Linked DNA regions of Homo sapiens: regions 2, 3, 4 and 5 are each linked to region 1. The links are contacts of gene promoters, found by promoter capture Hi-C in human tissues and cell types (Jung and others, 2019). All regions are on one chromosome and are shown on one strand. Each heading gives the region's core, a stretch centred on a gene start or on the middle of the fragment in contact. The rest is flanking DNA. Distances are from core to core; before and after follow the strand shown.

Evidence for each region. The method cuts DNA at HindIII sites, captures the fragments that hold promoters and counts their contacts. A contact is called where the count stands out against the background at its distance.
Region 2: a fragment that was not itself captured here is called in contact with the fragment with the promoter of LIMS2 in region 1 in 1 of the 25 tissues and cell types used here (spleen).
Region 3: a contact is called between a fragment that was not itself captured here and the fragment with the promoter of LIMS2 in region 1, in 1 of the 25 tissues and cell types used here (mesenchymal stem cells).
Region 4: a contact is called between a fragment that was not itself captured here and the fragment with the promoter of LIMS2 in region 1, in 1 of the 25 tissues and cell types used here (pancreas).
Region 5: a fragment that was not itself captured here is called in contact with the fragment with the promoter of LIMS2 in region 1 in 2 of the 25 tissues and cell types used here (heart right ventricle and hippocampus).

The regions. Positions count from the first base shown.
Region 1 is chr2:127,674,262-127,676,961 of GRCh38, forward strand. It overlaps LIMS2 (LIM zinc finger domain containing 2), which reads right to left and starts at 1,269. Exons shown (of 10, transcript NM_001161403.3): 1 at 753-1,269. The coding sequence starts at 763. The HindIII fragment of the contact is 18,801 bases long and covers 1-2,700 here.
Region 2 is chr2:127,456,644-127,459,343 of GRCh38, forward strand. LOC124907884 (a long non-coding RNA gene) reads left to right here. Exons shown (of 2, transcript XR_007087229.1): 2 at 1-1,278. Among named protein-coding and RNA genes, the nearest start is that of MIR4783, 34 kb to the left of the region's middle. The HindIII fragment of the contact is 4,271 bases long and covers 1-2,700 here.
Region 3 is chr2:127,501,170-127,503,869 of GRCh38, forward strand. It overlaps IWS1 (interacts with SUPT6H, CTD assembly factor 1), which reads right to left. Exons shown (of 14, transcript NM_017969.3): 4 at 2,218-2,407; 5 at 1,646-1,703. Among named protein-coding and RNA genes, the nearest start is that of IWS1, 24 kb to the right of the region's middle. The HindIII fragment of the contact is 3,564 bases long and covers 1-2,700 here.
Region 4 is chr2:127,821,336-127,824,035 of GRCh38, forward strand. No RefSeq gene overlaps it. Among named protein-coding and RNA genes, the nearest start is that of WDR33, 12 kb to the left of the region's middle. The HindIII fragment of the contact is 3,309 bases long and covers 1-2,700 here.
Region 5 is chr2:127,878,476-127,881,175 of GRCh38, forward strand. All of the region lies in intron 2 of AMMECR1L (AMMECR1 like), which reads right to left. It also overlaps the pseudogene LOC107985803. Among named protein-coding and RNA genes, the nearest start is that of AMMECR1L, 6.1 kb to the right of the region's middle. The HindIII fragment of the contact is 5,734 bases long and covers 1-2,700 here.

The sequences.
Region 1 (2,700 bases), core at 19-2,518:
AGGGCCTCAGGGACAGCCCCCTCCCACCCAGTCCTGAGTCATGCACTTGTACCCAGCTAGGTTCCAGAAAGGGCTGCAGGGACAAACACTGGCCGGACACTGGTGGACCTGTGACTGGCCTCCTGAGTGGCTCAGCCTCTGTGGCCTCTGGTGACCTCATCTGTGAAATGGCAACGAGGGGCCTGAGAGCAGAGGGTGGGCCAGGCCCAGGGGAGCGCCCTGTCCCCAACCAACCCCTGCACAGCTGGTGCTTGGGCGCAGCTCTGGCCAAGTTCCAACATACCCTTCAACATTTTTAACATTTTTACCACCCCAGGTTTACAGAGGAGGAAACGGAAGGCTCCAGAGATGACACTCACCGGGATCGGGGATCGCACAGCGCGGGCTCGGGGAAGTTGGGGGAGGCACGCAACCTTTGAACCTTTTGCCCGTGGTTGGTGTCTGACCTTGGACAAGACCCCCTCCCGCAGCCCTGGGCGTCGGTTGTGAGCAGACGGCTGTCCCATCTTGCAGCGGGCGGGTGGGCAGGAGCTCCACCTTCCGCTGCAGGCGCTCGCCCAGAGGAAGAGGCGCGGGGGCTGGGGGACCCCTGCCCCGACGGGCGCTGCCGCCCCGGCAGCTGCGAGAATCCGACGCGCCAGGGCGGAGCGGGGATCGTGGCGCCGCGGGGCTGTACGAGGGCGAGCTGCGCCTCGGCCAGGGGTCCCGCAGTCCCGCCTCCCCGGCCCGGGGGCGTGGGTGGGGGCCGTTACCTTCCCGTCATGGTGGCAGCGACGCCGAGCCCTGGGTTGCCGGGGTTGCCGCGGGTCTCCCTCTGCTGCTGCAGCCGCCAGCCGAGCGCCCGCCCGCCAGCCCGGGCCGCGGAGCAGGGAGACGCCCAAAAAAGGCCAAGAGCCGCTCCGCCCGCGAGAGGGGTGGGCGGGGGTGGCAGGGTGGGGCCCGCGGGGCGGGGTGGGATGGGGAGGTCAAGGCTGAGGGTGGTGGGGGTGTTGGGGAGGTGACGGTGGGAGGTTGCGGGAGTATAGGTGGGGGTGGGGGTGGCAGGTGGGGGTGGCGGCGGGTAGGGTTGGAGGGGTGGGGGTTAAAGGTGGGGCTGACGGTGGGGTTGGAGGGGTGAGAGTGAGGCGGGGGTGGGAGTGGGGGTAAAAGTAGGGGTAAAGGTAGAGGGTGGGCCCCGCTCCCGCACAGCCCCAGCTCCAGGGACACGGAGCGCGGCCAGCGGCGGGCGCGGGTCAAGTCCTTCCCAACCCGGGCTCTGCTCGCCACCTCCTGGATTCCGGGCATAGCTTTCCTTTTAAAGGGAGTAAAGTTATAATAAACGCGAACAAGCACCCCCACCCCCACAGCCCCGCCGGGACGCCCCGCCCGGCGCCCCCTCTGCAGTCCCTGGGCCGCCCCAACCGCAAACGCGTGCAGGAGATGGTAGGCGTGGGGGCGATGCTGAGACCACCTCCCTCCCGGGCTTTCCTAGCCCGGAGTTCCCACCGCGGATCTGGGCACTGACTCCCTCCCGAGGCACCCGGGACCGCCGAGTCCACGCAGTCCCGCCCCCAGGGAGGCTAAAGCCGAGAGGCGTCCCTCTTCAGTCGCAAAGCTGCTTTCCCCGGGAAATTCCGATTTCATCCCCCGTTGCGGGCCATCGCCCTAACTTGGCGAAAGATATTTCTTAAACGACAAAACCAAATGCCCAGCTCCCAGGTTTCCAGGGGAACCAGGCACGCCTCTGTATAATGAAGCGCTGAGAAGCTACCATTAGAGGCGTTAAGATGGAGGGGTAATATAAACTATTTAGGGAATCTCTTCGGAGGAAATTTTCAAACAAACAAAACAAAAAACCCCCGCCCTGCCTAAAGGCAGATATTTCCAGCTGGACAGTGGCGTGCAGCTCATCTTTGGAAGCAGCCCAGATGTCACACTGAGGTTTGGGAGCTGGGCGGCCTGATGTGTAAATGTGGTGCTACTCCGGTCTTGGCAGCAGAGAAAGATGATCTAGAAATGACGGTGTGAATTAGCAACCCACAAATAAACTGGTGCCGTTCAGAAAGATGAGTTGATAGTATCCTGCAGTTCCACCTGCAGAAATAAGCTGGGAAAAGACACCTGTTCCTAAGTGGCTGGTATTGTGGAGTGCCTTTGCAGTTGTTACTTTTTTTTTTTTTTTTTTTTTGAGACGGAGTTTCGCTCTTATTGCCCAGGCTGGAGTGCAATGGTGCAATCTCCGCTCACTGCAACCTCCGCCTCCCAGGTTCAAGCGATTCTCCTGCCTCAGCCTCCCAAGTAGCTGGGATTACAAGCATATGCCACCACACCCAGCTAATTTTGTATTTTTGATAGAGATGGGTTTCACCATGTTGGTCAGGCTGGTTGCAAACTCCTGGCCTCAGGTGATCCGACTGTCTCGAGTTATTACTTCTTGTTGCGAGCGTGTCTCAGCTGATTCGGCTTAACTGTAATTTGATGGTTGATTAAGCTTAAGTATGGATAATTTCTTGGCTCACCTGCTCATACAGGGAGAAAGGCTTTCCACCATTACTGACACAGAGGTGTAGGCATGCTGGGGCCGTGCACCAGAAATCCACTGCTGGACGGTTAATTGAATATCAGGGTCTTGTGGGAACCAAAGAGGATGAAAAGTTGAAAGCATTACACCAGAGGCCCATGCTCTCCACAGAGGAGACCACATTCCTGCCTTTTAGCCCA
Region 2 (2,700 bases), core at 103-2,602, 220 kb before region 1:
ATAGTGCTTAGATGTGGAGAGCATCTTAAATGTGGCTTGCCAATGACTGGATTTTGGAAAGCACCGATATGCGCATCTTTTTTTTTTTTTTTTTTTTTTTTTTTTTTTTTGAGATGGAGTCTTGCTCTGTCGCCAGGCTGGAGTGCAGTGGCGTGATACCGGCTCACTGCAATCTCCATCTCCTGGGTTCAAGCGATTCCCCTGCCTCAGCCTCCCCGAGTAGCTGTGACTCCAGGCACGCACCACTATGCCCGGCTAATTTTTTGTATTTTAGTAGAGACAAGGTTTCACCACGATGGCCAGGAAAGTCTCGATCTCCTAACCTTGTGATCTGCCCACCTTGGCCTCCCAAAGTGCTGGGATTACAGGCGTGAACCACCGCACCCGGCCACATGCATCTTATTTTAGTGAGATGAGATGTAGGAGTTAGCGAGGTAGGGAAAGGGAAGAACAGTAGACACAAGGAACACCAACTCAAAGCACACAGGAGAGAGTGCACGGGCTGCCTGAGAACAGGTGGTGGTGAAGCACGGTGGGCTGCGGGGCACGCGGAGGGCTGGAGGAGTGTGCGGGAGCAGAACCCCTGCTTCTGTGTTCCACTGCCTGTGTAAACTTCTCAGGTCGGTTCCCATGGTCATGTCTCTCCAGGAAGTTTCTCAATGGCACACACCATGTTACCCTCCCTTATGTCAAGCTTGTCCAACCCGTGGCCCAGGATGGCTATGAATGCAGCCCAACACAGATTTGTAAACTTTCTTAAAACATTATGAGATTTTTTTTTTTTTAGCTCATCAGCTATCATTATTGTATTTTACATGGAGCCCAAGACAATTCTTCTTCTAACACGGCCCAGGGAAGCCAAAAGATTGGACTTCGCCACTTTAAGATAAGCGGTTGTTGACTTTAAGACAAAAAAGGACACTTTATAATGACTAAAAAAATCAATCCATCAGGAATACACACCATTATAAACATAATGTACCAAACAACTGAGCACCAAAACACATGAAGCAAAAACTGGTAACACTGAAGGGAGAAACAGACAACTTAACAAAAGTAGTTGAAGACTTCAGTGCCCAACTTTCAATAATGGACGGAACAGCTAGGCAGAAGATCAGCAAGGAAACAGAAGGCTGAACAAGCTACACCTACAGACCACTGCAGAACACCCAATCACAGAACACACATTCTTCTGAAGAGCACATGAAACATTTGCCAGGAAACATCAAATGCTAAACCATAAAACAAGCCTCAATAAAATTAAGAGGACTGATATCACACACAGTCTGTTCTGTGATCAAAATGGAATGAAATTAGAAATCGATAATAGAAGGAAATTTGAGAAATTCATAAATATGTGGAAATTAAACAACTCCTAAATACAAATGGGTGAAAGAAGAAATCAGAAAATTTAACAGTACTTGAAATAAATGAAAACACAATATACAGAAATTTATGGGATGCAGTGAAAACAGTACGTACAGGGAAATGTACAGCTATAAACACCTATATTAGCCAGACATGGTGGCTCATGCCTGTAGTCGCAGCTACTTGGAAAGCTGAGGCAGGAGGATCATTTGAGTCCAGAAGTTTGAGACCAGCCTGGACAACATAGCAAGACCTCATTCCAAACCAAAAAAAAAAAAACCCCCAAACCCCAACTATATTTAAAAAGAAGAATGATCTCAAATCAGGAATTGAAACTTCCACTTAAGAAACAGAAAAAAAAAGTAGCAAGCAAAATCCAAAGTAAGCAGAAAGGAAATAATAAAGATTAAAGCAGAAATAAATAAAACAGAATAGAAAAAAATCAAGGAAAATCAATAAAAGTAAAAATAGATTATTTTAAAAGATCAACCAAATTTCTGAACCTTTAGCTAGACTGACCAATAAAAAGGAGAGAATGCAAATTACTAAAGTCGAGAATAAAAGAGAGAGGCCAGGTACAGTGGCTCACACCTGTAATCCCAGCACTTTGGGAGGCTGAGGCAGGAGGATGGAGACCGGCTTGGGCAAGATAGCAAGACTCCATCTCTTAAAAAAAAAAGGAAAATTAGCCAGGCATGGCTAGGCGTGGTGGCTCATGCCTGTAATCCCAACACTTTGGGAAGCTAAGGTGGGAGGATCACTTGAGGCCAGGAGTTTCAGACCAGTGTGGGCAACATAGTGAGATTGCCTAAGGAGGTCAAGGCTGCAGTCAAGCTATGATTGAACCACTGCACTCCACCCAGAATGACAGAGTGAGACTCTGTCTCAAAAAAAAAAAAAAGGCGGGGGGGCGAGGGAGGCCAAGGCAGGAGGATTACTTGAGGCCAGGAGCTCAAGACCAGGCTGGGAAACATAGTGAGACCCTAGCTCTACAAAAAAGTAAAACAAAAATGAGCTGGGCGTGGTGGCTTATGCCTGTAGTCCAGCTACTCAGGAGGCTGAAGCAGGAGGATCACTTGAGCCCAGGAATTCGGGGCTACAGTGAGCCATGATCAAGCCACTGATTTCTAGCCTGGGTGACACAGCAAGACCCTGTCTCTATAAAATAACAACTAAGAAAGAATAAAAGAGAGGGAATCAATGCTGACCTTACAATAATAAAAGGGATAATAGGGGAATCGTTTAAATTGTATGCCAACAAATCCAATAACTAAGATGAGATGCAGAAATTCCTACAAATAAACAAACTATCGAAAAACTTTCCACAAAGAA
Region 3 (2,700 bases), core at 173-2,672, 170 kb before region 1:
TTTCCTTCAGCTGGTACACTGTTAATTAATTCCCTCCTTATTTCATCTTCATTCCTGGAAAGTATTTTTGCTAAATTTAACAAAATTCTAGGTTTGCAGTTAGTAGATTCTATTGTTTCTGTTGTGAAGTCAGCTGTTAGTCTAATCATTACTTTTCTGAACGTATTTTTTTTCCCTTGTGGCTGCTTTTAGACTTTCCTATTTTCGTTGGTTTCTTGCAGTTTTATTACGATGTAGTTAGGTGTAGATTTCTTTTTGTTTATCTTCCTTGCAATGTGTACAACTTCGAGAATCTATGGTTTAGGTATCATTTCCTTTTAAAATACTGCTTCTGCTATACATGTAACTTTCCCTCTCCTTTCATTATTCCAATTTTTGCGAAAACTTTTCGATGTATAGTCTATATCTTTTCCTTTCTTCTGTAATACTGTATCTTGAAGCTTCATTCCAGATCTCTCCTTCTAAGCCATCTTCCAGTTCACTTATTTTCAAGTATGTCTAATCTGATGCTAAACTCATCCACTAAGTTTTCTGTTTTCCCCACCCCCTCCCACCCCATTTTTCTTTTCAAACAGGGCCTCACTATTTTACCCTGGCTGGTTTCGAACTTCTGGGCTCCAGCTACCCCCAAGCCTCAGCCCCCCGAGTAACTGGGACTACCAGCTACTTGCACCTACCTACCTGTACATCGAGTTTTTAATTTCAGTTACTGTATTTTTATAGTTCTAAAATTTCTACTTGGTTCTTTTCCAAATTTGCCTTCTTTTTGTTTGCTCTGACATTTTGAATCTTGTTTCTTATCTCCCTGAACATATTTAAGGTGGTATCTAAAATTCCTATATCTAGAGCCCTAAGTCTATTACTATTGTCATCATTACTGTTACCTTTTAATGTTATTTTTGTGTATAATAAGTACATATGAAAAACTTAAACCACTGTAATCTTATTTCTGAGACTGAGATTCTCTAGTCTGCCAGAAGATTCAAAGATGGCCTAAAATCTGAGCAAAGGCTATTTTATTTCCCCCTAAATCTTATGGTGCTGCTCTCTGAAGTCTCAATCCAGGGTATGGGGTTTACAAAGCCCCCTAACCTCAATAGGCCCCGAACTCTAAATTTTGTCCCCAAGCCTTGAGGCTGTCAAAAATATGAGTAGCCTCTCAGCCTGACAGGCAAACACCCCCACAGAAAAAGCACTTCTAAACACTGAATTACCACTTTAGGTTTCTCTTGGCTTAGTAATTCTTTGCTACTTTGTTCCTAGATAATGAGCAGATTTCTATATATTTTTGTCTAGCTTTTCTAGTTGTGCTTGGCAGAGGGGTTAGTCCAAATCACCTAGAATGCCACTGTGAAAATCGGAAGTTCCCTAATTATTGTGAATCTTGCCCTTTAGCATTATAAAGTGACTTTCTTTGTCTCAAAGTGTCCCTTCCCCCTTAATTCAATTTTGCCCATTAGCTTCCTTTTATGTCTTTGTATATACGCTTTCATTTTACTTCCTGAATCCCTCTTCTAGATTTTTATCTTGAATACATCATAATTGTTTATTCCTACTTATTAGAATCATCTATAATGGTATCACTGCCATAAAAACACCAAAAAAAAGCACAATCAAGGAGGAAATATTTCCATCTTATACTTACTGTAAATTCTTCTTCCTCTTCATCACCAGATTCTCCAAATATGTCTGCAATAAGATTTCTAGAAAGTAGACAAATGTAAAAACATTCATTTGCTTTATCCTCATTTGCATAGGAACCATTTTTTAAAAAATAGAATTTATGTACAGTAAAATGTGCAGATCTTCAGTGTTCAGTTCAATGAGTTTTAACAAATATATACACTCATGTAACCAGCACCCTATACACTCATGTAGCCTCCCCAGAAAGTCCTCTCATGGCCCCTTCTAGCTGGTCCCCAATATCAACATCCTAGAAACAACTGCCACCTTGACTTCCAACACCACAGATAAATTTTGCCTACTGAACTTCATGTAAATGGAATCATATATGTCCTCTTTGCTTTCTTTCACTTAACATGTTAATTCTGAGATGAATTCTGAGATTCACCCACATTGTAGTGTGTTCAGTTCAGGAACTAAAATACTAAATCCCCAAAGACATGCAATTAGGCAGGACATATTGTATTATAACACAGACCCCTCTCTACTGCCTAATTAAGAACCCCTGAAAACTCATGTTATACTGTCACTTACTCTTCTTCATTGCCTGACTCACTGTCACTCCCAAACAGATCCTTCTCTTCATTTTTCTTATCAGACAATTCTTTCCCAGCTTCTTCCTCACTGTCAGATGCTATGGTCTTCTCTCTTTTGCCTGACTTGTCTGATACAGCATCACTGTCAGAGTCATCTGCATCAGAGACAACACGACTCTTCTTTGCTGCTGTTGAAAAAGAAAATCATCATTAATTTTATTTTATCACAGCCATTGTATTACTAAGCATAACAGGTGCTTTAAGATGGCAGTATACAGCAAAAATAAATAAATAAATAAATAAATAAATAAATAAATAAAATAAAATCAGAGGGCCTCCTGACACATGGTTTAGAATTTTTAAAATAACTAAATGGCTCATTCAGAGTCATCTTACAAATTATCTGTTATTTTGCTTAAGAAAAACTGGCCAAAAGATGAAGAAAGATATCATCAATATAAAAGCAGCCACCTTTCCTTTT
Region 4 (2,700 bases), core at 103-2,602, 150 kb after region 1:
AAGCCAGATAAGAATCCCACAGCCTTTATGGAAAAGCTGAGAGAGGCACTAATAAAACACATCTCTTTATTCCCTGATTCAGTCAAGGAACAGCTCATCCTCAAGGACAAGTTTATTATATAGGCAGCTCCCAGTATTAGAAGGAAATTGCAGAAGCAGGCTATAGGACCAGATAGCACCTTGGAAAACCTCCTGAGGGAGGCCACCTCGGTCTTTTATAAAAGAGACCAGGAGGACGCCCAAGATAAAGAAAGGAAACACAAGAGGAAGACAGAGGCTTCTAGTAGCTGCTCTGCGGGCTTGCAAAGTCCAGGATCCCCAAGGTGCATCCACTAGTTGCTACTGGTGTGGCAAGTCAGAGCACTTTAAGAAGGAGTGCCCAGGCAACAAGAGGAAGCAACCTTGACCCTGTCCAGTCTGTGGCAGAGACCACTGGAAACTGGACTGCCCCTGGAGATGGAGGTCACTGGGTTCAGAACCAGTCTCACAGATTGTCCAACAGGACTAACTGGTCCTGGAGCTCAAACCCCCAGCTCCAGCAGCTTGAACTGCCATTACTGCACAGGAGCCCCAGGTGATTCTGGAAATCGAAGGAAGGAGGGTGACCTCCTTCTGGACACTGGAGCCAGCTTCTCTCATCTTCCCTTTAATCCAAGACTCCCCTCTTCCCGTAGCACAACTGTGATGGGTGTCTCAGGAAAGGTTCTAACCTGATATTTTTCTCAACCCCTTCGTTGTAGTTGGGGGGGACCTATTATTTACACATGCCTTTTTAATTATGCCTGAAAAATCCCACTCCTTTATTAGGTAAAGACATTTTAGCTTGCATGGGGGCCAGCATCCTTATAGCCCCAGACAAACTCTTCCCCCTGGTGGAAGCTAATATTAATCCAGAAGTGTGGGCAACTCAAGGAAAAATAGGTCAAGCTATTAACTACTAGGCCAGTTCGGATCCATCATAAGGCTCCTACTTCTTTTCCTAACCAGAAACAAGATCCCCTAAAGCCAGAAGCTAGGAAAGTGCTAGAAGCCATTATGAACCTAAAGATGTAGGACCTCCTGAAACCCTGTAACAGGTCCTGCACTGTTAAGGTCCTGCACCCCAATATTAGGAGTGCAAAAACCCAGTGGGGAATGGAGATTAGTTCAGGAACCTCACCTCATTAATGAGGCTGTAGTCCCAATTCATCCAGACTGTACCCTCTTCACGGATGGAAGTTCCATTCTGAAGCAGGGAGTCCAGAAGGCAGGATGTGCAGCAGTCACTCTGAATGATGTTATTAAAAGTGTACCCCTCTCTCCAGGCCCAAGCACTCAACTAGCTAAACTAATAGCTCTTACAACAGCACTTGAATTAAGCAAGGGAAAGCTAGTTAACATTTACAGACTCCAGGTATGCTTTCTTAGTTCTTCATGCTCACGCTGCCGTTTGGAAGGAAAGACACTTTCTTACTGCTAATGGATCCCCTATAAAATACTGCCAGGAAATTAACAGGTTATTATCCTCAGTTTTCCTTCCATGAGAGGTAGCAGTGATGCATTGTAAGGGACACCAGAAGGGAACAAATTAAATAGCTGAAGGAAACAAGTTAGCTCATCAGGCAGCCAAGTCAGCAGTAAGGAAGCCTCAGAGCATCAACACACTTGAAGCCCCTCTCATCTGCGAAGGCTCCATAAGAGAAATTAAGCCTCAGTACTCCCCTGCAGAGATAGAATAGGCCATCTCTCCAGGGTAAACTTTTCAGCCCTCAGGATGGCTACAGTCAGAGGATAGCAAGCTCCACTTGCCAGCCTCCAGCCAGTGGAAAGTCCTTAAAGTTCTTCACCAAGCTTTTCACTTGGGAAAGGATAAAACTTACCAGTGTGCTCAGAGTTTTTTTTCAGGAGAGAGCTTAATAAAAACAGTCAAACAGGTTGTTAATGCTTGTGAAGTCTGTCTTAAAAATAGTCCCCTTGGCCATGCACGGTGGCTCACACCTGCAATCCCAGCACTTTGGGAGGCCGAGGCAGGTGGATCACCTGAGGTCAGGAGTTTGAGACCAGCCTGGTCTATATGGTGAAACACCATCTCTACTGAAAATACAAGAATTAGCCAGGCATGGTGGCATGCACCTGTAATCCCAGTTATTCAGGAGGCTGAGGCAGGAGAATAGATTGAACCTGGAAGGTGGAGGTTGCAGTGAACTGAGATCACACCACTGCACTCCAGTCTGGGCAACAGAGTAAGACTCTGTCTCAAAGAATAATAATAAAAATAAAATAATAAAATATAAAAATAAAGTTACTCTAGCCACCCAATCCAATGCCACTTATCCACTTAAAAAAATGTTACTTTTAGGCCGGTCGCGGTGGCACATGCCTGTAATCCCAGCACTTTGGGAGGCTGAGGTGGGCGGATCACAAGGTCAGGAGTTCGAAATCAGCCTAGCCAACATGGTAAAACTCCATCTCTACTAAAAATACAAAAATTAACTGTGCATGGTGGTGCATGCCTGTAGTCCCAGCTACTCTGGAGGCTGAGGCAGAAGAATTGCTTGAACCCAGGAGGCAGAGGTTGCTGTGAGCTGAGATCATGCCACTGCACTCCAGCTTGGGCGACAAAGCAAGACTCCATCTCAAAAAAAAAATGTGACTTTTATATTAATGCTTCTGATAAAGTACAGTAACACCTGCTGAAAGGAAACCAGTAGTATAACCCAT
Region 5 (2,700 bases), core at 98-2,597, 200 kb after region 1:
CACCTGAAGGAAAAGCTAAATGTCGTGAGATAGAGGCAACAACTCAGACATTCTCTTCCAGGTGGTATCAGCCACCTGACTGGTGAAACACTCCATCACAGAGCAACAGAAGGGATTTTCAAACCACACCAATGCAGATGAACTCAAGTCCAGAAGATTCTGCCTACATGCCACATACAATCACTGATCCGCAGTGGGTCATAATCACAGTTGATTTTACACAGTTGTGTTTACAGTTCCCCAACATCTTCCAACTATGATTTGCAATGAACAGAACCAACCACAATCTTTGGCCCTTTAGATCCAAGCATTTCTCTGGAGGCCACTAAATAACCAATTCAACTGATAGTCTCAGTTGAGTTTTAGTGACCAAAAGCAGAGTTAGATATTTTCTGCATCAAAAATATATTAGAAGGCATTTCTTTAAAAGCTTATTCCATAAATTCAAATCTATGGGAAATTTCAAACATGACCAAAGTGGAGAAAATAGTATACTCCACAAATAGTATAATGAGCCCAATATTTAAAAATTTCCAACCTATGGCCAATCTTACTTCATCTATACCTCTGTGCATTACCTACTCTCTCCACCTCCCATCCCTCTATGGAATTATTTAAGGCAGTTTTTTGAGGGGTCCAATATTTTACTTATCTGCCAACAAAAAGCAAATATTAACTTGATACAGTTTGCGTGTTTGTCGCCACCCAAGTCTCATGCTGAATTGTAATCCCCAGTGTTAGCTGTGGGGCCTGGTGGGAGCTGACTGGATCACGGGGGTGGATTTCTCATGAATGATTTAGGACCAACCTTTGGTGCTGCACTCCTGATAGTGATGACAGTGAGCGCCTTCTCTCAAGATCTGGGCATTTAAAAGTGTGTGGCACCTCCTCCCAACTCTCTCCTGCTCCTGCATTTGTTATGTTATGTGCCCGCTCCTGCTTTGCCTTCCGCCATGAGTAAAACCTCCAAGGCCTCCCCAGAAGCAGATGCTGCTATGCTGTCTGTACAGCCTGCAGAACCCTGAGCCAATTAAGCCTTTTTTTTAAATAAGTTACCAGTCCCAGGTATTTATAGCAATGCAAAAATGGACTAATATATAACAACTACAGGCAAAGAATGTAAACCAAGGTGCTGGTAATAAACAAAGACTTCTTAAACATCAACCACTATCAACAAATTTCATCGAAATTTTCTCTTTAGGTTCGAGATTCTCTAGTCCTATTCCAACAATGTAGGTATCTCATCCACAACTAAGTAGTTCCCGACTCAGCTCTCAGCACTGCCCTACAGTGATCAAGAGACACCTGGTCCTCCAGCAGCCCGGCTTTGTGAGTACTAGGTAAGGTACTTCAGAATAATAGCATTCTAATAGATCAGACTATCCTTCTGATCAGCCAAAAACAAATGCTCCACTTAATGACATACTTACCTCTTCTAAATCTGTGCCCGCCAAACTTCCCTGCCAAACTTTATAAAAACTACCAAGGATGGTACTGTGAGCATAGTACAAATTACTGTGAAGCTGGTTCATTTGAAATAAGAGAAGCCAGGCGCAGGAGCTCACGCCTGTAATCCCTACACTTAGAGAGGCAGAGGCAGGCGGATAGCTTGAGCCCTGGAGTTTGAGACCTGCCTGGGCAACACAGTAAGATCCCATTCTCCACAAAAACGGAAGGAAAAAGACAAAGTTTGAAATCAGGTGTAAAAACCCTTGCTTTATGAAAGTATATATAACCAAGACCCTTCCAGGCCTTCAGCTGGTTACTTGCACAAAGCTCAGCTCAAGGGCCATGGTGAGAGTCCCTTTTCTTCCTGTTCATCCATTAGGACCACCAATAAGAATAAGCTAGTTAAAACTAGGTTTCCACCAGATGGAAACAATACTCATACCTCAACAAAAAGCTGGCAGAAATCACAGCAACCACTGTTTTACCTCTTAAGACCTCCTAACCTTGCAGGTGTCAAATAAAGTGTGCCCTTAGTGCTTAAAGTCACCAGCCTTCCTCAGTGATGCTGCGGCGTCCTCATCTGCCCTGTGCTTGCAGGACGTTCTCTCTTCTCCACCTGATGTACACACTCAAGGGGGCCCTGAACTTCATTAGGGCCTGCAACAAGGGCCACTCAGTGACTCTTCCTCCCTCTCTGTGGGGACGCTGAGCACTGCCCTGCTATTTGGAGCAGCTTACAACTTAAAAATTTCAGCCAGCACTGAACTCGGCATCACCCTGAGCCTGAGAGGCCGCAGGGCATCTGTTTCATCTTTCACTGCACCTAACATGGTGCCCTACATACAGTATACACACACACACACACACACACACACTCCTGATTGTCACCAACAATCTTATCTACACATCTAATAATTTAAGTTTGCCTGCTGACAGTGGAGTATCGCAGAACCTGAGGATGACTGAATTACAAGCACCTATTCTTATCAACAATCTCCATTCTATTCAGCCCAAACCAAGGGATAGTTTAATAATTATTCATAGCAAAATGGATAGCCACTGTGGATAATTCATTTTAAAAATTAGGTCAACTATCACCTAAATTCACTTCTTGGTCCAATGTATGCTGGTAGCTGTCATCCTTGCTAAAACATACCAGTAGCTGTCAGTTCTGAACTGGCTTCAGGTGCCACTTCGAGGTGGCTCAAGGCTTTCTTTTGATAGGTCAGACAATCTAAACTGCAGTTGGGA